3 separate regions of the Homo sapiens genome follow, and regions 1 and 3 are each linked to region 2. Evidence: promoter capture Hi-C in human tissues and cell types (Jung and others, 2019). All regions are on one chromosome and are shown on one strand. Each heading gives the region's core, a stretch centred on a gene start or on the middle of the fragment in contact. The rest is flanking DNA. Distances are from core to core; before and after follow the strand shown.

Region 1 (3,705 bases), core at 771-3,270, 400 kb after region 2:
TTTTTTTTTTTTTAGTAGAGACGGGGTTTCACCATGTTGGCCAGGCTGGTCTCGAACTCCTGACCTCAGGTGATCCGTCCACCTCAAGTGATCCGCCCACCTTGGCCTCCCAAAGTGCTGAGATTACAGGTGTGAGCCACCAGGCCCAGCCAAGCTGCTGCTCTTTTGGGTGCTTTCTATACACTTCTATACACCTTCGTACACAGGGTGCTACAGACATTTCATAATTAAGCAGGGCTGTCTTGTTGACTACCTCCATGCAGAATACAACAGCAGCAGCACCTCTGGACTGCACAACACGGCAGCTCTGCAAACAGATCTGGACTGGTGTAGTAGTATGGCTGCCGCTGAGGCGGGAAAAACACTCCAGCCCACACAGATGTCATGTCATTTAAATATATGTGTTTGCGGGACATGTTTGTTGGTTTGAAAATAATGTTAAGCTGAAGCAGGGGTATACCCCATTAAAGTTTCAAACAATCTGGCTCTTGAAGTGTTCCAGATCCACAGAGTTAAAACCTAAGTATTTCAGGGTAAGATAATCTAGAGGCAAGGGCTCTGAGGTCAGTGATGACCACAGATCTTTAAAGGATAAAGTGCTGCTGGAAAAGTCAAGTAAGAAGGAAATGGAGTTAGAAACATTTATAGAATTTCAAGGTAAAAAAGATCTTACCAGTTCAACCTCCCCATTTTACAGACCCAGAGAAGTGATGTGATTTGCCTAAGATCACACAGCTGGTCCCTGGCAAAACTAGGTGAGAATCCAGGTCTTTAATCCTGAGCACAGTGCTCTACTCGGTAGATCAGTGTTTTTCTAACTTCTTTGATTTTTCGACTTAGCAGCAGAACCCTTCCTCTCCCTCTCGAAATTAAATCTCTTGTGGATCTCAATACGTCAAACGGATAGCAGTAATGGGTTATTAGTATACTCTTCCTTTATGAGTTAAAATGTGTATCTTTGACCCAATAAAAAGCCAAAAATGAGACTGAGTGAATCAAAGTTTTACAGATAAGGTTATGAAGGCTAGTTACAGCCTTAGCCACCAAATTATTTCTGTGTTTTGCTTTGGTGACACAGTGTTGAGAAAATCCTGTTACATGCATAAAGAAAGCAAAGGAGAGCAGTTTCCTCCCAGTTCTTGACCACTGCGGACAAGGCAGATGCAGCAGCAGCAGCCTGAGATCAGCACAAAACTACCCAGCAGCCTGAAGCAAAGCACCGGTGGCCCCCAAGGGGTTCCCATTTGGCCAAGACCACACTCAAAAGCTCCTTTCTGCCACCCACATGAGTGAAAGGTTGACAGCAAGGCGGGTTTTCCTAACAGTTTCTACAATAGTTAAATTAAGTTTAAAAAGTGACACTAGGGGCAAACATGCAGAACCTTCTCCGTGGGTTTTGAAGAACATGGCATGAAACCATGATGCTAGAAGAGACCCAGGCTCTCAAACTTCTCTGTGCACTCCTCCTGCTCCCGTGCAGAGTCCAGCCTGAGCTTTCTATTTGCAAAATGCAAGGCACCGGGACGAACACCTGTATCTTAAATCCCCTTGAGAGTGGGAGGGAGGGAGGACCCGCTCTTGAGCTGTCTTGAACCTGAACCCTATGGGATGACATGATCCATGGTGGGACACATCCTCAACAACACTTTTGTGTTCCCTTAGTGCCACCCCACACCAAAGGCTACGCTCTAAAAACATACCCCAGTGCCCTGCTGCCCGGCCCCTTTCTTGGAGGTGACACGATGCATATAGCAAGGGAGCCTGTATATGATCAATGGTGCAGCTGGCCCAGTGGTCATCAGAAATAAAATTCCAGTTAAGAAGCTCCAAGGAAGGCCAGCACCAGAAAACAAGGGGATGAGAGTAAGTGAGGCAACAGCTGCAAAGGCCTTTGGTGTTCTCAGTCAACCCAGGGCTTTGCCTCCATATTCAGCGCTGTGCCAAGTCACGCAACTGTCATCTAGGTACCTGGAGACCCCCTTGAGGCTCAGCCTCACAGGTATCTTGCATGTGTGTCTGCACAATCCTATTTGGACAGCACACGGAAGGGATGCAGGGTTATCAAGGACAAGCTGAAACAGGCTTCATCCACTGATGTTCATGGGCCAGGAGGGCTGAATTTAAGAGGAAGAATGGGATCTCAGGATTCCCAGCCAGCCCTGTTCTCAATGTTTCACCCCTTTGGGCAGCAGAAAGGACTAGGGACCTTCATCCAGCTCTGCCTTCTCCTTGGGAACCTGACATTCTGGGTGAGCCCATTAACCTTGAGGGGCCTTTGTTCCTTCCCCTGTGACACAGGACAGAAGCTATGTCCCATTCTGGGGGCTGATGGGATGGTCAAATGAACAGGTACATGTGGAAAATCTCAAAAAGATGAAAGTGCCATATGAATGTGTACTGCTGGAAAAGGAGGCAGACTGGTACAGAGAGGCAGCCAGGGTTGTGATGCCCGACTAACCTGGGTTTGAATCCTGGCTACTCCACATATTTACTTGTTAACTTATTTACTTACTTGGAACATTCGCTTATTCCAAAAAGTTATTTAAAGTGGCTCGCATACTAGCGACTGTAGTTGTGTGGTCTTGGGCAGTTTAACTAAGTTCCCTGAGCCTGGGTTTACTTATCTGTGAAATGGGGAAGAAAAAAAGATTGTTATCTCACTGCAGTTGTGAGGAGAAACAAGATTGGGCCCATCACAGCATCTGACATGCGGTAGGACTTGATAAATAATAACTCTCTTACCATTACTTTGCAGAGGCACATGGAACAGCTAGGGCATTTAAATGAAAGAGGACAACAGAACCAACAGTCTACTGGCAATTTCCCAGAACATTTTGTTTTACTAGGGGAACATCCTTGAAAGGAAATTCTTTGTTTCTTTTTTTTGAGATGGAGTTTCGCTCTTTTTGTCTAGGCTGGAGTACAATGGTGCGATCTTGGCTCACTGCAACCTCCGCCACCCGGGTTCAAGCGATTCTCCTGCCTCAGCCTCCTGAATAGCTGAGATTACAGGCACCCCCCACCATGCCCGGCTAATTTTTGTATTTGTAGTAGAGACAGGGTTTCGCCATGTTGCCCAGGCTGGTCTCGAACTCCTGGCCTCAAGTGATCCACTCATCTCGGCCTCCCAAAGTGTTGGGATTACAGGCGTGAGCCACAGAGGAAATTCATTTTTTGAGTCTGTATCCAAAAAGATAAGAGATTTAGACTGGCCACAGTGGCTCACGCCTGTAATCCCAGCACTTTGGGAGGCTGAGATGGGTGGATCACTTGAGGCCAGGAGTTCGAGACCAGCCTGGACAATGTAGCAAAACCCCGTCTCTACTATAAATACAAAAATCAGCCTGGCATGATGGTGGGTGCCTGTAATCTCAGCTACTCAGGAGGCTGAGGCAGGAGAATCGCTTGAACCCGGTGGCGGAGGTTGCAGTGAGCCGAGATCACACCATTGTACTCCAGCCTGGGCGACAGACTCTGTCTCAAAAAAAAAAAAAAAAAAAAAAAGATAAGGAGTTTAAAAATGCTAAGCTTCTCCATGCAATAGTGAGCTTCTCAGTAAATATGACCAGCCCACAGGGTGATCCAACGAACTACCAGTGTTTATTAGAAAGGAATGTAGCTCAAAGACATAAAATGTGGGGTTTTAAATTGGCAACTTTAGAAAAGTGTTACTTGAGACTCAAGAAAAACCCTCAATTCTTTTTT
Region 2 (3,971 bases), core at 666-3,165:
CTTGAGAGATGACATTTAAAATCTGCTTTTTCAGAAAAGAAAAAGTCCCACTCAAGACTGACTGCCAAGAACTTGCAATTCAAACTTCCCTAAGCCCAGACATCATAACACCCAGGAGATTTTAGACCATTCAATCTATATGAAAGAATCCAGAATGAGCAAACAAACCATAGCCTTTACTAATACTTAAAGAGTGTTCTATACCAAATACTCTTTTTTTAAAAAAAGATAAATTATCCTTAAAAATACACAAATATTTAAACACACGTATTACCAAAGCACTAGCTCTCTATTATTTCCCAACCCAGAAATTCATGGTGAAATATGCTGTAAGAACCATACGAAAGATGACTAAATAAGCCACTATTAGAGGCCAGAAACATCACCAACACAACCAAAAGCTGAGGTATTCTTAAGGTACTTAATTAACCTGCAACTATTTAACAGGAGAAATGATGTTAAGGTGGTCACTTCTAAAACAGCTTAAAACCAGCTTTGACTTGGTCTTCAGTTTATGATAAGTTAAGAGATCTTATTACCTGAACACAGTGTCTTCCAGTACAAAAGTAGAAAGGACAGCTCCCAGCCAGGATCAGAAAAACTCTTGATTCAATTGGAAGTAACTGAGAGGTATATCACATGTTGTGATTCACTTAACAATAATTAGAACCAAAGCAAAATATACAGGGAGGCAGGTAGAATGTAAGTTCATTTCCTTGGCTGAGAAGCTGTTAAACATTCAAACCGAAGGATTTAAAATACTGAGAAGTCTTGCTTCTCAGGAGATGGTAGTAAAGAGGTGAACCATATTTTCCTGACCACATCATTTCCAAAAGTCACCAATTCCCTTAACATCCATTAACACTCACAGAACAAATTAACGCTCTATAGACATTATTCCATCATTAGTCACATTTTGCTTTCTCCTGCACTTGATCCAAAGGAAGTGAAGAGAAAATGGTAATCAGTTACTATAGCAAGTCTTGCGCCCCACTACTTTCCATTTCCTCTCTTTTCCATCTCCTCTGTCTTCTCTGCTCAACCTCCCTTTACTATGATGTTGCTTCCTCTTTTCCTTTCTGTCTCACACCCAGATCCCTTTACTTTCTCCATCAAGTATCCTCATTCTGCCCTCTGATCCCTTGAACTCTTCTTCCACCTACAATTTTCTTCTGTCCCCTCCTACGACATCTCAGTCCAGACCTCCTGTGGCCAGCCGTCCCCTTCTTCCTCACCTCCTGACCGCTCATTCCCCTGAATTCCCTTCCAGTTGCCTGGTTCTCACCTCTCTGTCCCTTGTGTCCTCTGTCCCTTTACTTCACATCCCTCTCATTGCCCCCATCCCTCATTTCCCCCTTCACATTTCCTTCCTCTCCTGTCTTTTAATCATTGGCACGTCCACTATCCCCTTCTCTCTACATGAGATTTCCTGAGTCTTCCCCCCAACACATTTTGTCCCTCAAAGACCCCTCCCTGTCAGTCTCCGAACCCTCTCGTTCCCCCAATACCCCTAGTCCTTGTTCCTCTGTTCCCCTTCCCGTTCCTTTGCCCCCAAGTTCCCCCTTCGCCCTTAGCCTCACGTTCCCGCTCGCCTCTCTCCCTCACGCCCTCGCCCCTCTCCCTCACGCCCTCGCCCCTCTCAGTGCCCCCGCCACCTTGCAGTCCCCGGGGTCTCCTCTCCCGGGCTCCCAAGCGCCCCCCGCCCTTTCCCCGTCCCCTAGTACCCGCCCCCCAATTCTCTACCCGGTCCCGGGCCGCGGCCCCTCCCTCACCGATGGTGGAGATGAAGGTGGTGTTGAAGGCGTCCTCTGAGAAGCGGAACAGGAGGCAGGTCTTGCCTACCCCCGAGTCGCCGATCAGCAGGAGCTTGAAGAGATAATCGTACGTCTTCGCCATCTTCTCGCTCCGGCCCTCTGACCGGGGAGCCAGAGGAGGCGGTGGAGAGAGGCGGGGAGGGGGCCGCGGGCGAGGGGGCGTGCCCGCCAATCCGCCGCTGCTCGCCCCGCCCCACGCCCCGCCCCTCCTCTCGGAGAAGGCCTGCGCGCCCCGCCCCGTGCGGCCAATCGGCGAGGGCTTCGTCATCACCGCCCGCGCCCCGGGACTTCATGGGACTTGTAGTTCCTCCGGGGAGCCTCGGGCGTGCCCCGCGAGGACTGTCCAGGCGGCTCCAGCGGATAAAAGACCTGCTATGGGCGGGGTGACAGGGTGGAGGCGTTTCCACCCGAGCTGGGAAGGGAGGCCCCGTTTCGTACTCTGCTGGTCGAGCCGCGGGAACTTAACTTTGTTATTTCTTTGTGTGCAGACGCCTTCCAAATCCAGGACCTCAGAATCAGAGCCCCGTAGTTCCCGCATCTCTTCCGCCGAGACCTGGAGCAGAGATGCTTTCTTTCCTTGGCGCTGCTGTGGCGCAGCCTACGGGTTATCTGCAGAGGGCATTATCCAGCTTCTCCCCGAGGCCATGCCCAGCACCACTATAACCCCCTCCCGCAGCCCCTCAGTCACAGAGCTGAGAAAGAATGGTTACCATGCTAACTCGAACCTCACTCGTGCCCCCTTCTTCACGCCACACAGACCAGAGCCAAATACAATGAGTATTTAGAGAATCTGCTACGCTGATCGCTCCCCTCTCCTCGCAGGAGGATGGATTTTTAAATCTGGGAAGTCTTGTGCTACAGGTCTGTGCCCCATGAAACTGCAAGCATCCTGTGAGGCGGGCCACGGGAATTTAGAGAGTAAGATTTGAATTTAGTCTTGGCTCTGCTGCAAAACCGCTGTGACAAGTCACACAGGCACTGGACATTTCAGTTTTCTCATCTGTAAAATGGATATGAAACAAGATACTTCATAGGGTTCCAGTGAAACTTAAATACTAAATGTGAAAGTTCTTTGAAACCCATAAGGCACTGTTAGCAGTGATGGTAATATTCATTACTCTTCAGTAGGCTCTCACTTAATTGATGACGAATATAGGGAGGAAACAGCATTCTGTTATACTCAAGTTAATCCTTTATTATTTATTGTCTTAGGCTAATTCTCTGTTTTGTGGATGTATTGTTCAGTCCCCTTTCATTTGCTAGTGGCAGAAACCCAACCGGATTAGCTGTTGTGAAAGGGGTGTTGACTGGTTCAGGTAATGTGGAAGCAAAAGGCTAAGAAGGTGTGGGACTAGGAGTCCACCCTGCCAGGGCTCTGTGTCTCTCATCTGTTGTTCTCCCTTCGAAGTTTTAATTTCTAATATGTCAAATACCGACAGGTAAAACCCACATGAAAAAAAGCTTCTTGGAGTCTTCAATAAGTTTTAAGAGGATGAAGGGGTCTTGAAACCAAAGTATTTGAGAACCACTGGTCCAGACATTTACCTTAGCTATAAGGAAACACCTTCTGGAAGGCTAGAGGTTATTAAGGGAACCAGTGGACTCCACCATTAGTGGAATAAGAAAAGGGGGGGGGGGAAAAACCGTGGACAGTTAGTTGAACAAACCAGCAGGCTTTTCTAAGGACACATACTGTGTGCCTTGTGACTTTAGGAACAGTGCCACTGATAATCCATTCTCAGTTGCATTGTGGCAGAAGACTTAGTTGGCCCTAGAATTGGCCTTCATTTTCTATGCGGGTAAAAGATGAAATGTGTCATCATTAACTGATTGATCATACAGTAGCCAGAGGGCTGCTGCTGCTGCTGCTGCTGCTTACGGAATGTCTCATTCCTAGAGTCCACTAGATAGGAACAAAGCTCTAATGAGTTCAAAGTCACAGTGTCTGCCCCTAATGAAGAAGGATTCTGCCCTCTGGCACAGGCTGAGCCCTCTTGCCCAAGCCAGTCCTTGAGCAAGCCTCTGAACGTGGCTTCAGCCATGATCTGAACAGTGTGGATTGTTCTATATCTTCCTCCTCATTCCTGGAAAAGAAGGGGAAAAAATTCCGCAAAGACCAGTGGAATTTATTTCTTTTTAAAAATGTATATTTATGGC
Region 3 (3,830 bases), core at 48-2,547, 430 kb after region 2:
AAATAATGACAGTGGTACCTTATAAGACTATTGTGATGTTCAAATAAAGTAACACAGATAAAGCACTTGTAGTAGTATTTGGTATATGGTAAGTACTTAAGTTAGCAATTACTATTGTGACCAGTGCTTCCGGCCCCAAAGAGAAAAGAAAAAGATGATAATGATCAACAATATCACTATTAAGTAAAAAGCCTGGTGGGCTTATCCTCCTCCTTCCCCGCTGAGATGCAGGCTGGCAGCAACCTCCGGATGGGAAACTGACCTGATAGAAGTGATGAGACTCTTGATGGAGTCGGACACTGTATGGGAATGTCCAGCCAGTACAGACCAGGTGGGTGGGTCTTTGGGGTTGATGGCCAGAGAGCGTGCAGTGCGAATGAGGTACGATGAACTCTCCAGCATGGTCTTGGCTGAGACCAGGATTGGTTCCTGTGCCTGGGAACCCTGAGACCAAACAGCAGAGAAATCAAAGTCAGGGTCGAAGACATGAGTGAATGACGTGGGCCCTGAAAGGTCCTGTTCTTTGCCAAATCACCACCTCTGCCCTTTGAAGGAGACAAAGAGGGCAGGGAACCATGAAGACTGGATTACCAGGGGTCTGCATGGCGGGGACTCAAGCCCATGTTTGCCCCTTAAATAGCATTTTTTGAGTGTGACACATCCCAAGAATCGCCCCAAACCTAGGCAGTAAGATTGTTCTCTACATATATGTTATCTCTCAACAGAGGTGTAGTCATTGTGTTTCACTAACTGTGCACATGCCATCATTGACAAGAGTAACAGTAGCCTACATGTTGACAGAGAGAGCTGTTGGAGTTTTAACTAGTAACTCATTTGGTGCCACACAAAGTTAGCCAAAGACCTTAGTATGATGTTCCTGTAAACACTCCCTACCTCGGAGCTGATCTGGGCAGGAATGCTGACAAACTCAGGGTTTGAGGCGAACGCTGTCAGGTTCTCCACAGCTTCAATCAAGGGTGCGGTGGCGATGCGACACTTATTGCGGTTGTCTTCAGAGAAATCCCCATCCAGGGCCTGATGGGAGAAAACAGGGAGATTCTGCCCAATTGAGAAGCACAAATTATTTCTGAACCACAGTAATCACCTCTTAGTGAAAGAAGGTGGTTCAACCGGAACACTGAAAATCTCTGGTGACTTCATAAACAATAAATAGGAACTGATGAAAGAGACCCCTGCCATCAAGCAGAGGGGCCCAGTTAGATGTTGTGGAGAATTAAATGTGTAGCTCACAGGACAACTGACTCCACAGTCAACTTTCCACTCCCAGGAAGCAGAGACACAGATTTAAACAGCACCCTGCTCTTCAACGCCCCGTGACCCCCTGCACCAGACTATGCAGCGGGACTACTTTCCTCCTCACTTTTGAGACTACAATCCTTGGGATCTTTGCCTTCATTTTACTCAGATTAAATCTATTCTCTTCCAAACAATAAACATACCGTATTGTATTTTAAAGCAGTACTTTTAACTTTTTCTAAGTTTTACCTGGATATTCCCTAATGACTGATGGAGGCAAGGCAGGCATAACTGTCATCATTCTGAAATGAACACAATGGAATCTAATGAGAAGGAATAGATGAGAACTACCCCCAGCCATACAAATAAATCTCACAAACATCATATTTAACAAAACGGGCCACCCACAAATGGGTGCCTCCTGTACAATTCCATTAGTACCAAGTGCAAACACAGGTGACCCTCCTAATCTAGGGTGTTAGAAGAGCAGATAAGACCGGAGAGAGCATAAGGAAAGCTTCTGGGTGTCAATAACATTCTGTTTCTTAATCTGGCTAGAGTTACCAAGGGGTGTTCCACTTGAGAAAATTCACTGAACTCTAAACATAACGTGTTTTCTCTGTGTGTATCTTATGCTTCATAATTAAAAAAAAACAAAAACAAAAAACTAACAGCAGGTAACACAATGGCATTGCATGATCAGGCCTATTGCTGATTTACGGTCTGGATGGATAAGGATCCAGGAATGTGGCCTGTGATCCATGCTAGACTGCTAACAGAGGGTCAACACTTCGATGAGGTTCCCAGCCCTGGACTCTACCTCCTCAGGATCAAGACTGTTAGAACCTACAGCCTGTGACCCAATGACAGAAACCCTCCCTCCCAGCAAAAGGCTACACTTGACAAGGCAGTTATGTTTGCAGAAGAATGCAAATTTCCTTGTTAAATGACCACTTAAACTTTTAACTTAACCCTTATGAGCAACATATAAAGCCAATTTAGACAATTGGGATAAAAAAAAAACAGGGGCACTGGCATTACCAAGCAAAGCAGATCTGAGATGGGAGCATTTCTGTTTTTCAGTAGAGCAAGAGGAGGCAGCCACCGTTGGTTTGAAGGCGATTTCTGAATAACAACTACATTCCAATCAAGCCTTGGCAGCTTGGGACAATAATTACATACCCACAATGCTAATATTTTCAGAGGAATTCCCGCAAGCCTGGCTAATTTACTGTTTTTTGCTAATATAGTACCTGGCTTGCCTTGGCTCATGCCCTTCCCCCACCAGACAGGCCCTGACCCTACCCTCACCTCTCCAGTTCTGCCATTTTTCCAGGCCCAATGGAAACCCTTGCACGCCGGCTACTTCTTGCTCACATATAAAGCCTCATTTCTCACTACCACTTACATAGCTGGTAAATGTTGATTTATGCTGCCGGCACTGGCCACGTAGAAGTGAACCACTTTGGTACTGTGATCTTGTTGCACTGTTAATATCGCTCTGAAGTTTGGTAGATCCCTGGAGGTCGGGGTTTACCAGACTTCAGAGCAATTTGAGAACACCAGTGCGAGGCAGGGTGGGTGCCACTCAGCAGGAGCCTGACACAGATGGGCCCAAACACAGGCAAAAGAGTGAAGCAGGCTGATTGCAAGAGTGGACTTTGGAGTGGAAGAAACTCAGGTCCCAGCCCCACCAGTGGCTACATGGCTTTCTCCAATCATACCCCTTCAGCTGGGATCACACGACTTCCAGCTTAACAGGAGATGCTCAGCCTTCCCTTGGTGCTGCTCGCCCTTCCTGCTTCTTACCTCTCCAAGCTTTTCTCTTCCCCTTTCTGCTCCCACAAACCTCTCAGTCTATTGGGAAGAAGGGCAGCCAATCAAGCCACTAAGCCTAAGCTGAACTTCTTCAGACTAAAAAGATGACAACTCAAGGGAAATCTCAAGGAATGGTTTTCTAATTGTGTAGGTGTCACAGACAGCACTATTAGAATAAAGACAGGGTTTGTTTGTTTGTTTGTTTGTTTGGGGCTTTTGTTTTGAGCACAGGCCCTAAAATCATATTAACATATAGCCCATTGCTATTTGCAGGTCAAAGCCTTGAATAACATGAACTAGAATAGCAAGCCATATCAATCATTTTCCATTCTCAAAAAGGACAAGTTATTTTATCCAGAAAAGGCATCCGGCGTCAGAAAGGATAGTTTGCACAGGTATTATTTCACTTCTGAACTCTGCTTCCATTGGGCACAGCAGAGCCACTCAAGTAAACTGAATACTCAAAGCTGCCCAGTGGTGACATTTCAAGCAAGCATGAGAGTTTCCATGTCACAGAACATCTGGCATACCAGCCATAATGATGAAAGGGTAAATTTACTCAGCCATATTTCCAGGCCCCACCAGAACAAGAACACTCCCAAGCCCGGAGCCTGCTCCAAGTGTTCCCCCTTAGCAAAATACCACGGACATCTGGGAGAAACAATTTCTGTGTATGCACAAAGTCAGATTCATGGACTTTGGGGGTTAGAGGGGACCCTAAAGACAATTTAAGCTTAAACTCCCAATTCTCCAGA

The links. Contacts are between HindIII fragments. The study calls those that stand out against the background at their distance.
Region 1: a contact is called between a fragment that was not itself captured here and the fragment with the promoter of RAB8B in region 2, in 1 of the 25 tissues and cell types used here (aorta).
Region 3: a contact is called between a fragment that was not itself captured here and the fragment with the promoter of RAB8B in region 2, in 1 of the 25 tissues and cell types used here (H1 embryonic stem cells).

What each region holds. Positions count from the first base shown.
Region 1 is chr15:62,787,493-62,791,197 of GRCh38, reverse strand. The region is part of intron 45 of TLN2 (talin 2); the gene reads right to left. Among named protein-coding and RNA genes, the nearest start is that of MIR190A, 35 kb to the left of the region's middle. The HindIII fragment of the contact is 6,484 bases long and covers 1-3,705 here.
Region 2 is chr15:63,187,550-63,191,520 of GRCh38, reverse strand. It overlaps RAB8B (RAB8B, member RAS oncogene family), which reads right to left and starts at 1,915. Exons shown (of 8, transcript NM_016530.3): 1 at 1,773-1,915. The coding sequence starts at 1,896. LOC101928972 (a long non-coding RNA gene) reads left to right here and starts at 2,090. Exons shown (of 4, transcript XR_932355.4): 1 at 2,090-2,675. RefSeq lists a silencer at 1,831-2,160 and an enhancer at 2,341-2,490. The HindIII fragment of the contact is 5,046 bases long and covers 1-3,971 here.
Region 3 is chr15:62,758,886-62,762,715 of GRCh38, reverse strand. TLN2 (talin 2) reads right to left here. Exons shown (of 59, transcript NM_015059.3): 38 at 895-1,035; 39 at 263-444. Among named protein-coding and RNA genes, the nearest start is that of MIR190A, 63 kb to the left of the region's middle. RefSeq lists enhancers at 3,025-3,822, 3,823-3,830. The HindIII fragment of the contact is 6,877 bases long and covers 1-3,830 here.